Linked DNA regions of Homo sapiens: regions 1 and 2 are each linked to region 3. Evidence: promoter capture Hi-C in human tissues and cell types (Jung and others, 2019). All regions are on one chromosome and are shown on one strand. The core of a region is centred on a gene start or on the middle of the fragment in contact, and the rest is flanking DNA. Distances in the headings are between cores, read along the strand shown. Region 1 has its middle 14 kb from the start of HTR3E-AS1. Region 2 has its middle 4.2 kb from the start of VWA5B2. Region 3 holds the start of AP2M1 (adaptor related protein complex 2 subunit mu 1).

The links. Contacts are between HindIII fragments. The study calls those that stand out against the background at their distance.
Region 1: a fragment that was not itself captured here is called in contact with the fragment with the promoter of AP2M1 in region 3 in 1 of the 25 tissues and cell types used here (hippocampus).
Region 2: a contact is called between a fragment that was not itself captured here and the fragment with the promoter of AP2M1 in region 3, in 1 of the 25 tissues and cell types used here (adrenal gland).

The regions. Positions count from the first base shown.
Region 1 is chr3:184,117,555-184,121,517 of GRCh38, reverse strand. It overlaps the pseudogene HSP90AA5P. Among named protein-coding and RNA genes, the nearest start is that of HTR3E-AS1, 14 kb to the right of the region's middle. The HindIII fragment of the contact is 9,466 bases long and covers 1-3,963 here.
Region 2 is chr3:184,223,703-184,227,165 of GRCh38, reverse strand. No RefSeq gene overlaps it. Among named protein-coding and RNA genes, the nearest start is that of VWA5B2, 4.2 kb to the left of the region's middle. The HindIII fragment of the contact is 4,117 bases long and covers 1-3,463 here.
Region 3 is chr3:184,173,260-184,177,208 of GRCh38, reverse strand. AP2M1 (adaptor related protein complex 2 subunit mu 1) reads right to left here and starts at 2,354. Exons shown (of 12, transcript NM_004068.4): 1 at 2,250-2,354; 2 at 142-258. The coding sequence starts at 215. DVL3 (dishevelled segment polarity protein 3) reads right to left here. Exons shown (of 15, transcript NM_004423.4): 15 at 3,595-3,949. RefSeq lists enhancers at 1-704, 2,237-2,306 and a silencer at 1,977-2,026. The HindIII fragment of the contact is 8,082 bases long and covers 1-3,201 here.

The sequences.
Region 1 (3,963 bases), core at 1,460-3,959, 56 kb after region 3:
GCAGTTTGGGAGGCCGAGGCGGGCGGATCACCTGAGGTCAGGAGTTCGAGACCAGCAAGACCAACATGGAGAAACCCCATCTCTACTAAAAAATGCAAAATTAGCTGGCATGGTGGTGCATCCCTGTAATCCCAGCTACTCGGAAGGCTGAGGCAGGAGAATTACTTGAACCCGGGAGGCGAGGGTTGCGGTGAGCCAAGATCGCGCCATGGCACTCCAGCCTGGGCAACAAGAGTGAAACTCTGTCTGAAAACAAAAGCAAAAACCAAAACCAAAACAACAAAAAACATCCATCCTCAGGAGGGTAAAGTGTATTGCATTTCCCTAATGACTGATGATGTCAAGCACCTTTTCATGTGCTTTTTTGTTTGTTTGTCTGGACAGAGTCTCATTCTGTTGCCCAGGCTGGAGTGCACTGGTGTGATCTCGGCTCACTGCAATCTCCGCCTCCCAGGTTCAAGCAATTCTTCTGTCTCAGCCTCCTGAGTAACTGGGACTACAGGCTCACGCTACCGCACCTGGCTAATTTTTGTATTTTTAGTAGAGACCAGGTTTCACCATATTGATCAGGCTGATCTCGAACTCTTGACCTCAGGTGATCCACCCATCTTGGCCTCCCATAGCGTGGGCCACCCAACCTGGCCTGCTGTTTTTTTTTTCTTTTCTTTTCTTAAATAGGGATGGGGTTTTTTGGCCAGGCTGGTCTCGAATTCCCGACCTCATGTAATTAGCCCACCTCAGCCTCTCAAAGAGCTGGATTACAGGCATGAGCCACTGTACCCGGCCTTCATGTGCTTACTGGCCATTTGTGTATCTTCTTTGGAGAAATGACTATTCAAATTCTTTGCTCTTTTTCGTTGATTATTTGTTTATTTATTGTTCAGGTGTAAGAGCTCTTTATGTATTCAGGGTACATATCCTGTATCAGATATATGACCTTCAAATATTGTCTCCCAGCCTGTGGGTTCTTTTTTCACTTTCTTGATGGTTTATTTAAAGCATGATAGTTTTAAATTTTGATAAAGTCCAATTTCTCCTTCCTTCCTTCCTTCCTTGCTCTTCTTTCCTTCCTTCCTTCCTTCCTTCCTTCCTTCCTTCCTTCCTTCCTTCCTTCCCTCACTCCCTCCCTCCCTCCTTCCTTCTCTCCCTCCCTCCTTCCTTCCTTCCTTTCTTCTTCTTCTTTTTTTGGGATAGAGTTTCCCTCTTGTTGCCCAGGGTAGATTGCAATGGTGTGATCTCAGCTCACCACAACCTCCGCCTCCCGGATTCAAGTGATTCTCCTGCCTCAGCCTTCCAAGTAGCTGGGATTACAGGCATGCGCCACCACGCCCGGCTAATTTTGTATTTTTAGTAGAGACAGGGTTTCTCCATGTTGGTCAGGCTGGCCTCAAACTCCTGACCTCAGGTGATCCGCCTGCCTAGACCTCCCAAAGTGCTTGGATTATAGGCATGAGCTACCGCGCCCAGGCTTATCTATCTTTCTTTTTTATCGTTTGTGCTTATAATAGTCATATATAAGAAATCATAGCCCACCCCAAGATCGTGAAGATTAACTGCTATGTTTTCTTCTAAGAAAACATTTAGCTCCTATGTTTAGGACTGTGATCCATTTTGAGTTGATTTTTGTGTATGGTGTGAGGGGTAGGGGTCCAAAGACATTCTTTTGCATGTGGATATCCAGTTGTCTAAGCACCATTTGCTGAAAAAAACTATTCTTTTTATCATTGAATTATTTTGTTCCCTTTGTAGAAAATAAATTGACCGTAAATGTTAGGGTTTATTTATGAACTCTCCATTCGAATTTCGTTGACCTATATGTCTTTCCTTATGCCAGTATCACACTATCTTGATTACAATATCTTTGTAGTAAGTTTTTTTTTTTAAGATGGAGTCTTGCTCTGTCTCTCAGGCTGAAGTACAGTGCCACGATCTCGGCTCACTGCAACCTCCACCTCCTGGGTTCAAGCGATTCTCCTTCCTCAGCCTCCCGAGTAGCTGGGATTACAGGCACACGCCACCATGTCCAGCTAATTTTTGTATTTTTAGTAGAGATGGGGTTTTGCTACTTTGGCCGGGCTGGTCTCAAACTCCTGACCTCAGGCGATCCCCTCGCCTCGGTCTCCCAAAGTGCTGGGATTACAGGTATGAACCACCGCGCCTGGCCTGCAGTACGTTTTGAAATGAGGAAGTGTGAGTCTACCAACTGTGTTCTGCTCCAGGATTGTTTTGATTATTCTGGGCCTGTTGCATTTCTGCCTTTTTTTTTTTTTTCTTTTAAACTCATCTGTATTTGTTACAACCTTTTTAAGCAGAATGTGACTTGGGTACTACAGTTCCATTCACAAGCCTCGCTCTGGGTTATTTCTGAACAGCTTTACAATATGCCTAGGTAGGCTTATAATTTTGCTCCTGCAAACAATATTTTCCTTTGGAAAACAAGTCCTGTGGAGAGTTCCTTCCATCAAGTTGCTTCAGTTTAACATATTTCCAGAGGACAATTACATGCAGAATTGGCAACTACAGGATGAAAAGTTTAAAAAGTAGATCCTAGAAGATGCAACAAATACTTTTCCTCTAAACATCAAGGTATTTCTCAGAAAACTTCAGTGACAAAGATTTGGCCTACTAAGGAATCTGGCTTGATAGCTTAAACAGTTTAGATCACAAAGTTAATGTTAGGTTACATACATCTTTTTTTTTTCTTTTCTTTCTTTCTTTCTTTCTTTTTTTTTTTTTTTGAGGTGGAGTCTCTCTCTGTTGCCCAGGCTAGAGTACAGTGGCGTGATCTTGGCTCACTGCAACCTCCACTTCCTGGGTTCAAGCAATTCCCCTGCCTCAGCCTCCCGAGTACCTGGGATTACAGGCACCTGCCATAGCACCCAACTAATTTTTGTATTTTTAGTAGAGACGAGGTTTTGTCATGTTGGCCAGGCTGGTCTTGAACTCCTGACCTCAGGTGATCCACCCGCCTCGTCCTCCCAAAGTGCTGGGATTACAGGCGTGAGCCACCGCACCCAGCCTACATACATCTTACAACACACATTACCCCAATCTGTTAAAATAAGCCAATGTGAAACTAGAAAAGCATTGCTAGCTCTGTTTTAGTGCCTGAAGTATCACAAAATCACTTAGAAGTATCACAAAATCACTTAGAAGTAGAAAGAAACCTTACCTTCCCCCTGAAATAGTTATTGTCATGCCATGCAGACTTTTTTTTTTTTTTTTTTGAAGGCAGAGTCTCCCACTTTCTCCCGGGCTGGAGTGCAATGGCGTGATCTCAGCTCACAGCAACCTCCGCCTCCTGGGTTCACATGATTCTCCTGCCTCAGCCTCCTGAGTAGCTGGGATTACAGGTGCACACCACCACACCCGGCTAATATTTTGTTTTTTTTTAGTAGAGATTGGGTTTCGCCATGTTGGCCAGGCTGGTCTCGAACTCCTGACCTCAGGTGATCCACCTGCCTCAGCCTCCCAAAGTGCTGGGATTACAGGTGTGAGCCACCACGCCCGGCCCCCATACAGACTTTTTAAATGTTAACAAAAATAACTAAAATAATCCTGAAAATATATTATCAGAGAGAATGAAGATAGAGTATTGAACACATGTACAAGTCATTCCTCAGCCAGAGCCGCCTACTTCTTCCATGCGTGATGTGTCATCACCTCCTCTGAGGGGCGGCATTTCTTTAGTTATAGCGGCATTGATATCATTAGCAGTAGGATCATATTCATCAACACCCAGACCAAGTTTGATCATCCTATAGATCTTGTTAGTATGTCTCTGAGGGTCTTCCATACTGAAGCCAGGAGATGGGAGTGCAGTTTAGTAAAGCAAGATGACCAGATCCTTCACTGACTTGTTGTTCTTATCAGCCTCTGCCTTTTGCCTTAAGGTTTCAATCATGAATGGTCAGGGTTTATCTCCAGGTGTTTCTTTGCTGCCACGTAGCCCATTGTTGAGTT
Region 2 (3,463 bases), core at 200-2,699, 51 kb before region 3:
CTGCCTCAGCCTCCCAAAGTGCTAGGATTATAGGCATGAGCCACTGCGCCTGGCCCATAGGAGGATATTGAGCTGAAAAGACTTAGCTTCTGCCTAGGAGAGTCTCACACTTTAGTGAAAAGGGCAGACAAATATACAGTTACAGTAGCTTGAGATAAGTGCTGCATTACAAGAGTAATAGTAATGGATATTATAAAAGCTTTTAACTGGCTGGCGGTGGCTCACACCTGTAATGCCAGCACTTCAGGAGCCTAAGGCAGGAGAATCCCTTGAGGCCAGGAGTTTGAGACCAGCCTGGACAACATAGGGAGACCCTATCTCCATAACAATTAAAAATTAAAAAACAAATCTTAACCAAGGGTGGTGGTGATGTGGGGAATAGGGTGAACCTTAGGGAACTGACTTAGAAAATGGCACTCAGCCAGGTCTTCTTGTTGCAAAGCACAACTCAATTATCTCCTGCTTGTGGGCTGCCTGTCGGCCTTTGGAGGGCAGAGGTCTTATTTCCCCAAACTATAGATGATCTACCCTCTCAGATTGGAGCTCCAGAAGAGATATACCTAGAGAAAAAGAGGAATTTTGCCTCTTGCTGTCTAAAGCTTGACTTCCAAAATCCCAGCCCCTGCCTGAAACCCAAATTGGAAGATGGTTTAGTTCATTAATTCATTTGTTCACTCAAGAAATATTTCTTGTTGAAGCCTGCGGTGTGCTAGAGCTGGAACTACAGCAGAAAACAAGACAGTGGTAGCCCCTCCCCTCACGAAAGACGTCAATTAAACAATTAATTTTTAAATTTTGTATTTCAAAATAACTTCAAAACTTCTACAAAAGTTGCAAATAAAGCATTTTTTTCTGAACCATTTCAAATTAAGTTTTACACATCCGACCTCTTTACCCCTAAACACTTCGGTTTGTCTTTTCTTTTCTTTTTTTTTTTTTTTTCAGAGACAGGGTCTCACTCTGTCACCCAGGCTGGAGTGGAGTGGCACAATCATAGCTCACTGCAGTCTTGAACTCTTGAGCTCAAAGGATCCTTCCTCCTTGGCTTCCCAAAGTACTGGGGTTACAGGTGTGAGCCACCATGCCCAGCCAGTTGGTGTGGGGGGGGGTAGTTTTTTTTATTTGTTTGTTTGTTTGTTTGTTTTGAAACACAGTCTCACTGTTTTGCCTAGGCTGGAGTGCAATGGCTCAATCTCAGCTCACTGCAACCTCCGCCTCCCGGGTTCAAGTGATTCTCATGCCTCAACCTCCAGAGTAGCTGGGACTACATGTGCACGCCAGAATGCCTGGCTAATTTTTGTGTTTTTGTTTTTATTTTTATTTTTTGAGATGGAATCTCACTCCGTAGTCCAGGCTAGAGTGCAGTGGTGCGTGTGCAATCTCAGCTCACTGTGACCTCCACCTCCCAGTTCAAGCGATTCTCCTGCCTCAGCCTCCCGAGTAGCTGAGAATACAGGCACCCACCACCATGCCCAGCTAATTTTTGTATTTTTAGTAGAGATGGGGTTTCACCAAGTTGGTCAGGCTGGTCTCAAACTCCTGACCTCAAGTGATCTGCCTGCCTCAGCCTCCCAAAGTGTTGGGATTATAGGTGTGAGCCACTGCTCCCAGCCTTTAAGAGTCTTCTACTGGGAGTAGTTTCTCCTTTTTGTCTTTTGTGATACTGACACATTTGAAGAGTACTGGCCAGTTGTTTTGTAGAATGTCCGTCAGTTTGAGTTTGTCTGTTGTTTCCTCATAATTAGATTCAGGATATGCACTTCCCATAGGAACACCACATAAGTGACGTTGTACCCTTCTCACTATATCTCATTGGGAGGATGTACATGTCAGTTACAGTTACTGGCGATTTTAACTTTGATCCTTTCAATAAGGTGGTGTGTTAGGGTTCTCCAGAGAAAACAGAACCAACAGAGATTGAGAGAGAGAGAGAGAGAGAGAGAGAGAGAATACGTATATATAAAATAAGGAATTGGCTCGTGTGCTTGTACAGGCAAGTCCAGTGCGGGCTGGCGGGCTAAAGACCCTGGAGACCGGATGGTGCAGATGAAATTTGGAGGCAGCCTGCTGGAGAATTTCCTCTTTCTCATGGAGGTCCATCTTTTTGTTCTGTTCAGGCCTCAAGTGATTAGATGAGGAACATTGTGAAGGTTAACTCTGGGTCTTAGCTTGACTAAATTAAGGAAGACCTATTCAGAAGCCGGGGCCAGGCGCGGTGGCTCACGTCTATAATCCCAGCACTTTGGGAGGCCGAGGTGGGCAGATCACCTGAGGTCAGGAGTTTGAGACCAGCCTGGCAAACATGGCAAAACCCTGTCTCTATTAAAAATGCAAAAATTAGCCAGGTGTGGTGGTGGACAACTGTAATCCCAGCTGAGGTGGGAGAATTGCTTGAGTCTGGGAGGCGGAGGTTGCTGTGAGCTGAGATCACGCCACTGCACTCCAGCCTGGGTGACAGAATGAAACTCCAACTCAAAAAAAAAAAGAAGCCTGACTATAGTCTGGAAAAAAAAAAGAAGACTAGAGAAGCGGTAAAACATTCCTTCGGGTGCATCTGTGAGGGTGTTTCTAGAAGAGATTGGCATGTGAGTAAGTGGACTGAGTAGGGAAGATCTGCCCTCATTGTGGGAGGGCACCATCCAATCTGCTGGTGGCCCACATAGAACAAAAAAGGAGAGAAAAGAATTTCCTCTGTCTCCTTCTCCTGGAGCTGGGACACTCCTTTTCCTGCCCTTGGACATCAGAACTCTAGGCTCTCTGGCCTTGAGACTTATACCAGAGGCCTCCCAGGTTCTCAGGTTGTCGATGGCCTCAAACTGAGAGTTACGCCATTGGCTTCCCTGGCTCTAGGCCTTTGGATTTGGACTTGGACTTGGACTGCCACATCCCAGGGTCTCCAGCTTGCAGAGGGCTGGTTGTGGGATTTCTCAGCATCCATAGTCATGTGAGCTAATTCGCCTAATAAATCCCCTCTCATCCATTTATCTATTTATCTGTCTGTCCATCCATCCATCCATCCATCCATCCATCCATCCAACCATTCATCCATCATCTATCCCCTATTGGTTCTGTCTGTCTGGAGAACTGTGACTCATACACCCACCCATATTCTGGAGGGCAATGTGCTTACTCAAAATTCACCAATTTCAGTGTTAATCTCATTCAAAAACACTTCAAGTTGACACATAAAATTAACCATCACGGGTGTTGCTTGCCAGATTTCTCCACTATAATGCTACTATTTTTCTTTTCATAATTAAATAAGTACATTTGTAGGGAGACAATTTGATTGTATGTAACTATTCCAATCGTCATCAAAGTTTCACCCACCAGTTTTAGCATCCATTAATTACCTAAATAATATTTTACATCAGTTTTATTGAGGTATAATTTACATGTAGTAAAATGCACTATTTTTTATTGTGGTAAAATATACATAACATAAAATTTGCCATTAGTGATA
Region 3 (3,949 bases), core at 1,105-3,604:
CTACACTAGCTGAGCTTCCAGGGTGCAGCCAGGGGTCAGGGTGGCCCAAGTCAAGCCAATGGTGGGAAAAGACCTAATCCTGTATGCTGGGGCTGGGGGGCTGGAGTGGTGGGGCACAGCTGGCTCCGCCAGGGGACTCACCCGATGTCATCTCGGTAGACTCGGGAGATGAGCACCTCCCCCTTGTGATTATAGATGAATAAGCCTCCAATCATGGCGGCAGATCAGTCTCCGCGGCCCATCGCTCTGAGAACAGACCTAGGACAGGCGGGGGCAGGGTAAAAGAAGACCTCAGAATCGCTGCCAACATCCCCTGTGGAGCTGTGCAGGTCACTGGAGCTTCTTTCCTGACTCAACCCTTTAGTAAGTGACCCTGCAGCCCTCCCAGACATGCCCCTCCCCTCAGCCAGGCTCCAGTTCCTGTTTATTCCACACTAGATGGGAGAAAGAAACAGAGAGAGATTAGGCCCAGGATTCTAAGGCCATTTTGACCCTCCCTTTCCTGGGGCTGAGCATCAGTAACCCCCGCCCCCTCTCCCCAGCACTGAGCTCAGGAATGATCCTTTTCGGCCCCCTCCTGTGCAGACTCTCGGGCTCCCGCCAGTGACTCACTAAGGCTTGCCTGCCTGCCTGCGGCTGCAGGAATGGCGGTAGGCATTACTCCAGTTGGTTCAGGCCTGGGGCCCCCAGGCATAACCTTTAGAGCATCCAGTCTCTTGGGCTCCACTACCCTTCAGAGAAGGTCGCAGGGCCTGAACTTCCGGCACTCTAATTCACAGAATTCAAACATTCCAGGAAAGGGTATAAGGAGAAGAGAAGGGAGCCCTTAGGCCCTAATGTGGACCCGGGAGTGTGGCTTAACCTCTTCCAGGCAGTGGAATAAGCAGGCAAAGGGCACAGGAGGAAGGTCCTAGGGCTGGCAGACTACACTTCCATCACCCAAGCTGCTTATTACAGTTATTTCTGATTACCACCCCCCTTTCAAAAAGCTCTGGAATGCAATAAAAATAAGGACTGGGGGGTGGGGGTGGCGCAGGCTCATAAAATTAAGAAATCCTTCCATCTGAAATCGTGATTCCAGGCCCATGAAGTAACTCATTTCTGGCCTGGGTGCCTATAAGCAAGAAGCAGGGATGTCAGGATGCCTGAATTATCCAAATTATTTGGGTCAAATTAATTTAGACTGTTTGAGAAAAGGCATTAATTTGGTTTTAGATTTCCTGGATTAGCCCTGGTATTAATTTCACAGGGAGTACTTTAGAGGACTTTTCTAAACTGGAAAATAAAGCCTTTTCCTGTGGCTGTCAAGGTCTTCCAGAGGGGTGAGCGGTCTCTCAAGGTGGTGGACTCATCCCATCCCTCAGTCCCAAACAGGCTGGGAGAGGAGATGCAAAATGGAGGTAGAGCCTGGGGCAAAGCACCAAGTCCACAGGTATCGAGTGGTAGGTAGCGAAGGGCACCCGAGAACCAGAGGGGGGCCTTGGGCAAGAATGGAACATTTAGTTAAGGGGAAAGACCTTCAGTGAAAGCCAGGCAGCGTCCTCAGGTGAGCCCACAGCAGCAAACTGGGCTGGTGGAGTGAACGTAAAGGTAAGGGTTTCCAGTATGGAAAAGGTCAAGGCTTTAAGAAGGAAAAACCGGCCGGGGGAACTGACAGTGGTGAATAAGGGAAAGCTGGGGAGACAGAGCCTGCTTGGGGTTCAGGTGCAGAGTAATGAGAGGGTGGTAGGCTTTTCGCCTTGGGGAGGACATTGTGGGAAAAGATGGTGCCATGGGGGTGCGGGGGCTGTCACAGGTCTAAGGAAGAAGAGCCGCGGGGTGCCACTGAACTAAGAGGAGGGGGTGCCGCATGGCGTGAGACCTGTCACGGTGCAAGGCGGCGGCACAAAGGGGTGTCACTGTCCTACGAGACGGGGAAATTGTCCTTGCGCGGAGGGGTAGGGGGTTGGCACGATCCTAGGGAGGGGGCGCTGCGCAGCGTTCCTGCTCTGGGAGGATTCCAAGCGGTATCCCTCTCATGGGAGGCGCCAGGCGGGTCAGGTGGAGGGCACCGCTCCCCGCCAGCCCTGCAATCGCGCCCCGGGCGCCCCCGCCCCACCGTCAGCTAGCTCCCGGGTCCGAAGGCTGAAGCCACTCCCGGGTGTGGGCAGCTTTCCGCCAGCTCAGTGCAGGGCAGGACAAAGCTGCGCGGCGAGGCAGACGACCCGCAGCGTCCTCCTCCACGCCATAAGGCCAGATCCCCGGCTCACCTGGTGTCCTCGGCCCCCTGCTCTGCCGGCCCGGCCACTCTCCGGATCCCAAGATGTCCGCCCGCCCCCTGCTCGTCTGCCCGCTGCCTCGGCTTTCACCGCAGTGCCGCCGCCCCGCCCCGGCCCCGGCTGCGCGTGCGCGCCGGCGTCTAGCGCCGACTACAAATCCCGTCAGGCCTCGCGGCCTCCTTGCTTGCAATTTGAAGCGCTCTAGGTTTAGCAAAACTACAACTACCGACTGCCTTCGAGAAACCGCCCCCGCCTCAGGAAGGGGTAGGCGTGGCCTTAGTCGGCCCTACCAGAAATACACATTCCAGCATACACCGCTCCACCCGCCTCATTTTTTTTTTTTTTTTTTTTTTTTTTTTTTTTTTCACTGAGCGCTCTGGGAATTGTAGTCCCTGCACTTCCTCCTGTTCCTATTTGTGTTCTGGAGAGCTTTGGGATATTAATGCCATTTGTGGAAGCACATCTGTTAAGCCTTGGATTGCTGTAGGCCTTTTCTGTCTCCAGAGTCCCAGGACTGGCTGTCCTCACTTTACACACAAATAAATACAACTGGGCAGTAGAAGTGTTTGTGCTGAATTTACTGCTTTCTAACACTACCTCTGATTCTCTCAAGCTTTTCTCATATATTTGTTCCGGACATGAGCTTTTTCCAAGGGATCAAGACCCAAGGAGAGGAGCGGGGAGGAAGGAGGCGACTACTTGGAAGAAACTAAACCTTTTCACAAATAAGTCCATGACTGTACACTCTTCCCGGAGGTCAGCTACAGCTTTTCATGAACGAGCCGATGTTCTCCTTAGCTATACCTATGCGACTGTGTATGCCTTCTAGTGACAGGCATATATGTTGCTTAGAAGACGTTCGAAGAGTTGAATTTAGTTTGACATGGGATTTGAAATCCCCTCTTTGATAAACAGAATCTTTACATCCAAGCTGAGGAGACAGACCCAACCCTCACACATGAAAGGCCTGCTTGGTTCTTGCAGAGTCTTAAGAAAATCTGTTGGCTCTTCTCTTTCTGTAGGCAGAGATAAACTGCTGCCTTCCTTGGGCAGGACTACGCCTGTCATGGGAGGAAGGAAGGGCAAGAAAGGACAGATCTGGTTGCAAATGTTACAGTCCTTCCCAGCCTCCAGCCAGAAGCCACGATGTGGCAGGATGAAGATCTGACCTCTCTCACATCATAGTCACGGCCTGAAGTCATTAAGTGACTGAATACAGGCACTTCTAATTTTTGAACCAGCACTCAAGGCTTCACTTCTACCTTTGCAAAAGCTTTATCTTCCAAAAATACCCTAAACTGCTACCAATTTAGAGTAAATAATAATAATGATAAAATAATAATAATAATAGCTACCATTTATTGAGCACCTACTCTACTGTGTGCCAGGCACTGTGCTAGGCACTTTTCGTACAATATCTAATTTAAATCCTCACAACAACCCTGTGAGGTAGGTATTATTATCATCATTTTACATACGAGGGAACTGAGGCTCAGAGAGGTTAAATAACTCTATCACACAACCAAAAATAGTAGAGCTGGAATTCAAACCCAAAACCACCTAACTCCAAATCCCATGCTCCAATGAATTAAAGTAGAGAGGGGAGAGGGAGGGCCAAATTCAAGACAGAGTGTTGGAGTGAAATGGATATGATATGCTGATAAGATATGGGAAGAAGGAATGTAAGCTCA